2 separate regions of the Homo sapiens genome follow, and region 2 is linked to region 1. Evidence: promoter capture Hi-C in human tissues and cell types (Jung and others, 2019). All regions are on one chromosome and are shown on one strand. The core of a region is centred on a gene start or on the middle of the fragment in contact, and the rest is flanking DNA. Distances in the headings are between cores, read along the strand shown. Region 1 holds the start of C21orf91 (chromosome 21 open reading frame 91). Region 2 has its middle 48 kb from the start of LINC01549.

The links. Contacts are between HindIII fragments. The study calls those that stand out against the background at their distance.
Region 2: a contact is called between a fragment that was not itself captured here and the fragment with the promoter of C21orf91 in region 1, in 2 of the 25 tissues and cell types used here (dorsolateral prefrontal cortex and hippocampus).

The regions. Positions count from the first base shown.
Region 1 is chr21:17,817,614-17,821,473 of GRCh38, forward strand. C21orf91 (chromosome 21 open reading frame 91) reads right to left here and starts at 1,743. Exons shown (of 5, transcript NM_001100420.2): 1 at 1,690-1,743; 2 at 579-712. The coding sequence starts at 705. The region is part of intron 2 of LOC124900465 (a long non-coding RNA gene); the gene reads left to right. RefSeq lists a silencer at 1,358-2,137 and an enhancer at 2,388-2,437. The HindIII fragment of the contact is 15,791 bases long and covers 1-3,860 here.
Region 2 is chr21:17,388,810-17,393,180 of GRCh38, forward strand. No RefSeq gene overlaps it. Among named protein-coding and RNA genes, the nearest start is that of LINC01549, 48 kb to the right of the region's middle. The HindIII fragment of the contact is 3,165 bases long and covers 568-3,732 here.

The DNA of each region.
Region 1 (3,860 bases), core at 493-2,992:
TTTTTGGATTTGGAGAATTTTTCTTCATATATCTTAGGGACATTATTAAAAAAATTTTAAAAACCTTTTCAGGTTTTAAAAATTACCAACAGTGTGTGTGATCACTGAAAAGAGGTTAATCTAAAAATTTTAAAGTATTTTTCCAGATAATAAGATCATACTGGTGAGAAAAGAGTTCGGGCTCATCTCACTCAAATACTTGCATAATAGGCTCGAAAGAATAAAAAAATTGTTATGTTACTTCTTAATATAAAAAACACACAGGTCTGTTAAAATCTGACAATTCAATAAGCTCTCAAACCAGAAAACACGTTTCCCAGTCAACACTCATACTTATTTCTGTATTAGGAAAAATGGGGTTGTTGCAGGGGTCTTTAAAAAAAAAAGATTTCTCTTAAATTCGTAACTCTGTTAACTGCACCTTCATTTCCAGAAACCTTATCTTTAACAAATCTCTACACTATTCATACTTAGCACAATTTCCAATCATTGAAGACATTTTAGTTTTACCTTACAATCAGTACAAAGCAGCTGTGTTAAATTCATTCCATAAGATCAAAACTATACTGTGTCCTTACCCTCAATATTTAGCTCAAAACAAATGTGGCAGAAGGAGAGTGTTTCTTTGTCTGTTCCCAGTTTACAAACACTGCAAATGTTGTCATCATTCAAATCAATGTTTACAAACTGCTCCTCTTCGTTCATAGTGCCCCTATTAAGAAACAGAAAAGGAAAGTTACACAATTTCATGAACCTGCCTTTGGGGTAGTTCCCTTTACTGGGAACTTCTAGGAAATAAGGATGCTGTTCAGCTCATTTAAAGCAAAAGCTCCATCAAACAAGCATCGCCATACTTGCACTCCAACATTGCACTTTTCCTGTGGAAAGACACAAAGCTAGTAAAACTTAAAGCCAGGCCATAGGTGACACTATGTCCGTGTCTTTTTTGTCCTATAGTTGATTGGGTTAGTGGCACCTGAAGGAAAGAGATTTGCCGGCATTCTAGTCCTCCTCCTTCGTCCCCCAACCTCGAATAATCAGAGGGCTTAGCAGCGAGGCCTTTTCAGCTACCAGGTTCTGTCAACCTAGTTAACGCTGTGAGAAACAGGAAAAACGACCTGCACGGGACACTGCTTTGCTAACTTCATTGGGGGAACCTCAGATGCGCCTCGCGAACTCGGAGTTGCGAAGCTTCGCATCGAACGGAGATCGGCGGCAGCAAAATGCACGTGGGTACCGAATACCCGGGGAGGGCGTCCCGCCGTGTCCGGGGCAACTACACCGAAGGCCGAGCGGCGGCTTCACGGTACCGGCCGGGCACCGCCGGAGGGGCCCAAGCCGGAGCTGGGAGAGCCGCGGCATCCTGGAGCCCGGCGGGCGGGAGAGCCTCGTCCCATCGCTCCGGGATTCCTCCCAGAGGGAAGAAAGCGTCCGAGGGCCACGGCGGCCGGTCCGCCCAGCCTCAGCGTCTCGGGGAGCCGGGTCCTGGCCCGGCCTTCGGCGTTGGGGGCGCGCGGCCGCCCCCAGGGAGTCGCGGACCCAAGTCCGTCTTTCCGTCGGTCTGTCCGTCGGGGCGCCTGGCGCGCAGCAGCGCGAGGGGCCACGGGGCTCGGAACTCGAAGGAGGCGGAACGATGGGACTGGGGGTCGGGGCTCAGGTGGGATGGGAGCAGGGCTGCGGGGTCTTTACCGTCCGGCTCCGCGGGCCACCACCGCCGTTCCGTGCGGCTCGGGTTCCTCCACTATTGTTTCCGGCCGCAGCAGAGGCGGCCGCCGCGCGCCTGGCCCCGCCCTCTCCCGCCGGCTCCATCCCGTAAAGGCTGCGGGGAGGGTGGCGCGGCCGCGGGCACACCTGCGCGCTCGCCGGGCTGCTGTGGGTCCGCCCCTCCGCTCCTGCACCGACGCCGCACCTTCGCCTCGAGTTCTCCTGTGATCCCGTGTTTCCTGGCCGGAGTTTCTTACCGTTCTCTGGAACGTAGCTCCTCACACACCCCTCCTCGAGGTGCGTAGATAGACGAATCCGTTCCACCTCTCCCTTCAGCCTAGTGCAAACTACTGCCCCGGGGCGGGGGCCGCAGGCGGCGGGGGTAGGAAAGCCGCGGGTGGATGGCAGAACGGGAGAGGTGCGTGGGTGGCACTTTGACTTCAGGAGAAAGAAGCAGAATACTGTCACTGAACTTATAGTTAAGTGCCAGTTGAAGTATCTAACGAAGGAAAAGTTCATATTCAGGTGTCATGATAGAGGCATAATTTCAAATACAGAATCTTTTCAAATACATTATTTGTTGTGGGGCGCCCCTGCCCCCAATATGGTACATCCCTCAACGCCCACGGGAAAAATCCCGAAGCCCCACCTCTTATTTTTAGGTCCTGCTTGGTTCTCAAATTCTTTGCTTGACTTTTGTTTAAGCTATTCTGTTTTTTTTAGGGTATGGTTCTTGCAGTACTTTCACTTACATTTTCCATTGTAGTCCTCACAGTAACCTACAGAGGAGAAACAGGAACTGTTCTCTCATGTTGCAGCCTACGAGTAATTGACCCAGGTTATCACAGTTGGTTAGAAAAAGGCTGGGACTTGAACCGAAGGCTACTGACCTAAGATCAATGTTATTTTCTACAGCATCATATGTATGTGTTCTGGTTGCACTCACATAGAAAGAGGGCTAGCCTGTCAATCTACATGTAGGCATTCTTGAACTGATGGTTAGGAATGGACTGTCTAGATCTTGGAAACTTCTGGGCCAAATTAGCACTCCAGTTATGGCATTTGTGCCTCGCAGGAGCGATCTGTGTCCTTGCCACCTAAATTGTAGTAGATGAACAAACAACATTGACATTACTTGGTTTCCTGTTAGAAATGTAGAATCTCAGGCCCCACTCGAGATTTCCTAAATCAATACTTGCACTTTAACAAGACCGCCAGGAGATTCCTATGTTCATCGAAGTTTGAGATGCACTAATTGAAATGAAAAGCCTGTGCTTTTTCTCTTCGAATTTCTCATTCTAGGTAACTACGACTAAGATACCTTGCATGTTGGATTCTACCCATCTTTTCAATAAAAAGCATTCTTTTAAAAAGGACTCTTTTAAAGTGATTCAATAAAAGTGTTCTAAAATCACTAAAATTTAAAAATTGAAACAAGTTATTTTCACTTCTCAGAATTGTCTTCCTTCCTATGGCATTTCACATTGTTTACTTGCTATTCTTAAAACTCTTCTCTCTTGTTGTTGGCTTTTTAAAAAAAATCAAGGAATAATTTACAGAAATAAAATGCTTCCATTTTAAAAGCATTATTTGATGAGTTTTGGCAAATACATACACTTGAGTAACCACCACCCCAGTGAGGATACAGAACATTTCCACAGCCCCGACATTTCTTTCTGTTCCTTTCTGGTCAAGCTCCTTCAACATGGGATCTAATTTATATGACGAAGTGTTTTAGTTTTGTCTGTTATAGGAATTCATATACATAGAATTAAGCAGTGTGTGTTCATTTGTGATTGGCTATTGTCATGCAGCATGTTTTTGAGATTCACGATGGTATTTTGTAACAGTGGTTTCTTTTCACTGCTCGTCTTAGTCAGTTTGTGTTCCTATAAAGGAATACCCAAGGCTGGATAATTTATATAGAAAACAGGTTTATTTGGCTCATGGTTCTGGAGGCTGTACAAGAAGCATGGTGCCAGCATCTGTTTCTGGTGATGGCCTCAGGCTGATTCCATTCATGATAGGAGGCAAAGGAGAGCCAGTATGTGCAGAGATCATGTGGCCTGAGAGTGAGCAAGAGAGAGAGGGGAGGAAATTCCAAGCTTGCTCTCTCTTTATTTATTTTTTATTTTTTATTTTATTTTATTTAAAAA
Region 2 (4,371 bases), core at 900-3,399, 430 kb before region 1:
TTTTTTATCACAGCAACTTCTGAAAACCCAGCTTCCAAAGATATGTCTTTTAGAAAAGCATTACAGCACAATCTAAGGTTTAAATTATAAGGTATTTTGAGCCAGTAGTTCATGCAGCAGCCAACAAATGTTTCTGTGTTTTTCTTGAGAATTTTCAATATGTCGTGTGGCCCCTGTGAGGTCACTGCAACTTCTTGGGGTGCCTCAGTGCACAATTTGGGAATCATAAGCTTAATTATCTTTTTCTCAGAGATAAAAATGTAGAGTATGTTTAAAGAAGTCTTTCTAAATACATCAATAATTTCTCTATTATTCATACTCTGGGGATATTATAAAGGAGGCTATTTCTATTCATAGTATGGAAACAAAATGAAAATTTTATTACTTTATAAGTATTTATTTAATATAAAAATATTCTAAGGGCTGGACCTCTTTCCTTTGCCCATTTTAATTGAACAATGGATGGACTATGAAGAAAAAGTAATCCAAGAATAAAAAAATACAAATCAAAGGTTCAGTTTGAAAAAAAATTATCATCCAAGAAATAATCATTTCCTTTTTATATTAAAAAATGTTCTCTTTATTCTCATTTCCCAATATAATAATATTTTAGTGTTAGCCTGGAGTCTGTGCCAAATGATTACACAGTATGTCTACTTCCTGACCCATAGGGAGTTAATCTTCGATAAAAAACAAGCTCAGGTAATGAAAGATCTTCCTGTTAATTGCAAGTGATAGGAAACACACACACACATTTCTCTTACTCCTTCCTGAAACCCCACTAAAATAACAAAAATGATGTGAAAGGGCATAATTCCACAAAAATGAGGAGAACAGAAAAGGTGATTATAGAAGATGATTACTGTACACCAAAAAAAGATGATTATTGTACACAAAATGAAAAGCTTATAACCTTTGGTAAATGGCTTTGGACTCATATATCTCTGCTCTGCTGAGTACCTGAAAAAGAAAAAAACAACTAGAAGAAAGTTGATTCATGAACTCAGAAAACTTCTATCAATAGAGGAACCAGGGGCCTCTGAAGGTGTTAAGTTTGCAAGTAGGGCTGAAAACAGAAGAATTTGTTAAAAGTCTGAAAAAGGAGGTAACAGACTCTTCAGTCTCCTCCCACCGTCCATGCAGGCAGGTGACTACATGTCACAAAAGATGGTAGGTTTCTTATTAATAACATAGACGTTCATTGGATAACATAGATGTTCAATCAGTCTATTTTCAGAAGAGTGAGATTTCTAGTTCCCTTCTGGTAGTAGGCCCTCAGAACAATGACTGTTAGACTTATACTCCATCATAGGAGATAATGAAAATGTCCTTTAGGGAAACTGTCTAGCCCTATGAATACCGACAGCCAAGAATCCCCCAAGACAGCCAGCTCCTGCCTGAGCTCTCTACAGTAAAACCTGACACACTTGATAAGCTTCACAGGAACATGGGACTTCTTTTTTTTTTTTTTTTTTTTTTTTTTTTGATGGAGTCTCACTCTGTCTCCCAGGCTGGTGTGCAGTGGCGCAATCTCAGCTCACTGCAAGCTCCGCCTCCCGGGTTCACGCCATTCTCCTGCCTCAGCCTCCCCAGTAGCTGAGACTACAGGTGCCCGCCACCAAGCCCAGCTAATTTTTTGTATTTTTAGTAGAGACAGGGTTTCACCATGTTAGCCAGGATGGTCTCGATCTCCTGACCTCGTGATCCGCCCACCTCGGCCTCCCAAAGTGCTGGGATTACAGGAGTGAGCCACCGCGCCCTGCCTGAATATGGAACTTCTAATCAGGATTTACTGCCACTCTTTATAAAAAATAATTTATTTTAAAATAACTTACATAAAAACTTTCAGATCAGAACAAAGAATTCTTGTATCCCTTTCATTCAGATTGTCCAAACATTAACATTTTTCTGAATATGCATGGACACCAACCCCGTCTCTCTGTGTATATGTAGGGAGAGGAAGTGATCCATTATCATTAGTCATACTCTGAACTTTTTAAGAGAAAGCTTCAGACACGATGTCCCATTATCCCTAAATAATCCAGTGTGTATTTCCCCAAAACAAGAAAACTCTCCCATTCAAATTTTGCCAACTGTCCAAAACTCTCTCTTTTTCCTTTCTGGTTCAGGATTGTTCCAAGGAATATATGTTGCATGTAGTTCTTATGTCTCATCATATTCATTCAGCTTAAAACAATAATTCTGCCTTTGATGTCCTTAACCATTTTTAAAGAGTAAAAGCGGCCTGGTGCAGTGGCTCATGCCTGTAATCCCAGAACTTTGGGAGGCTAAGGCGGGCGGATCACGAGCTCAAGTGATCGAGACCATCCTGGCCAACACGGTGAAACCCCATCTCTACTAAAAATACAAAAAAACTAGCTGGGTGTGGTGGGGCGTGCCTGTAGTCCCAGCTACTCAGGAGGCTGAGGCATGAGAATCCCTTGAGCCGATGAGGCAGAGGTTGCAGTGAGCCGAGATCGTGCCACTGCACTCCAACCTGGTGACAGAGCGAGACTCCATCTCAAAAAAATAAAATTGAATTAAAATAAAGAGTAAAAGCTTCATATTCCATGTAATGACCATCACAGTGTTTCTCGGGAGCAGACACAGGACAGGTATCCTTCACAGGAATATTACGGAAACTATGCTATGCTTTTCCCACTGTATCTCATCAGGATGTACAAACTTAGCAAAGAAAACACACACACACACACACACACACACACACACACACACACACACAAAATATTAAGCCTGAGAAGTATAAGTACAAGGAAAGTACAAGAAAGGAAATGAAGCCAGAGTTTACTACGATAAAGAACTGGGAATGGTCTGAGACTTCATCTTATTTGCAAGCCAACAAGTTAGCCTGCCATAGTTTCATGGATGCTGGGGAAAGACCTGAGACTCCCAGGTCAGAGGCAAAGGATTTTATTACTCACAAAACAGTAAGCAATATGAGCTTTATGGTCACTCTGGTTCCCCTTGCCCTCCAGTTCCCATGGTGGTGACAAAGAGTATCCAAGGCAGATGCTGCATATGCAGTGGGTTTGTATCACAGCTAAAAAACCCTGAGCTTGGGGAACCTCAGTCTTTTATAATGGGTTGAAAGCAAACCTACATGACTTTTGGCCCCGTGGAAGACATTATCTTTACCATACTGGATAGCAAACACACCTGTCATCTGCTCTGGAGGGAGATGCTGTCTCTATAGTCCAAGGCTATTCACTATATTTATATCCTGGAAATCGCAGTCTGGAACAAAACCTGTCACTACCTGTGCCCTTAAAATGTGCAGAAATATAAATGACCCATGAAGAATTGTTGTCCAACCACTGCGTGACTCATCTCTGAAAATAATTACACATAAAACAATAAGGTAAACTCTAGATGTTGACTTACCCAAAAAATTGTGACTAAATATATTGGCAAAGGGGAGAAATGGGAGGAGTATGTTGGGGAAGGTAGACAGGCATAAAACATAATAAATTTTATATTCTATACTAGGAAATAAATAGATGACATCTAAAACAGAAAATCAAAAAATAGAAGTAAAAGTGTATTACTTTTAAAATGTAGGAAAATAAATAAAAGTGTTAAGTGTGGTATTGCCTCTTAGGTATAGTTTTGTTTTCATGAAATGGGAAAGGTGGAACAAGCAAGCCCTTTTTTTCAGCATAAGCTATTTGACCTTTTTAACTATACACAAGATTATCTTCATAAAAATTAAAATACAAAGCCAGGCATGGTGGTGCACACCTGTAGTCCCAGCTACTTGGCAGGCTGAGGCAGGAGGATCACTTGATCCCAGGAGTTCAAGACCAACCTAGACAACATAGAAGGCCCCTTCTCTAAAGTAAAATAAAATAAGCCTGGGCATGGTGGCTCACACCTGTAATCCCAGCACTTTGGGAGGCCAAGGCAGAAGGATTGCTTGAGCCCAGGAGTTCAAGACCAGCCTGGGCAACACAGTGAGACCCTGTCTCTACAAAAAAAAATTTTTAAAGGCCAGGCATGGTGACTCACGCCTGTAATCCCACCACTTTGGGAGGTCAAGGCCGGCAGATCACTTCAGGTCAAGAGTTCGAGACCAGCCTGGCCAACATGGTGAAACCCCGTCTCTACTAAAAATACAAAAATTAGCCAGGTGTGGTCGTGCACACCTATAATCCCAGCTACTCAGAAGACTGGGGCAGGAGAATCACTTGAACCAGGAGGCAGAGGTTGCAGTGAGCTGAGATCACTCCACTTGCACTCCAGCCTGGGTGACAGAGCAAGATCCTGTCTCAAGATCCTTTTAAGGCTCCATCTCAAAAAAAAAAAAAAAAAAAAAATTAGCCAGGCATGGTAGCACCCTTCTGTAATCCCAGC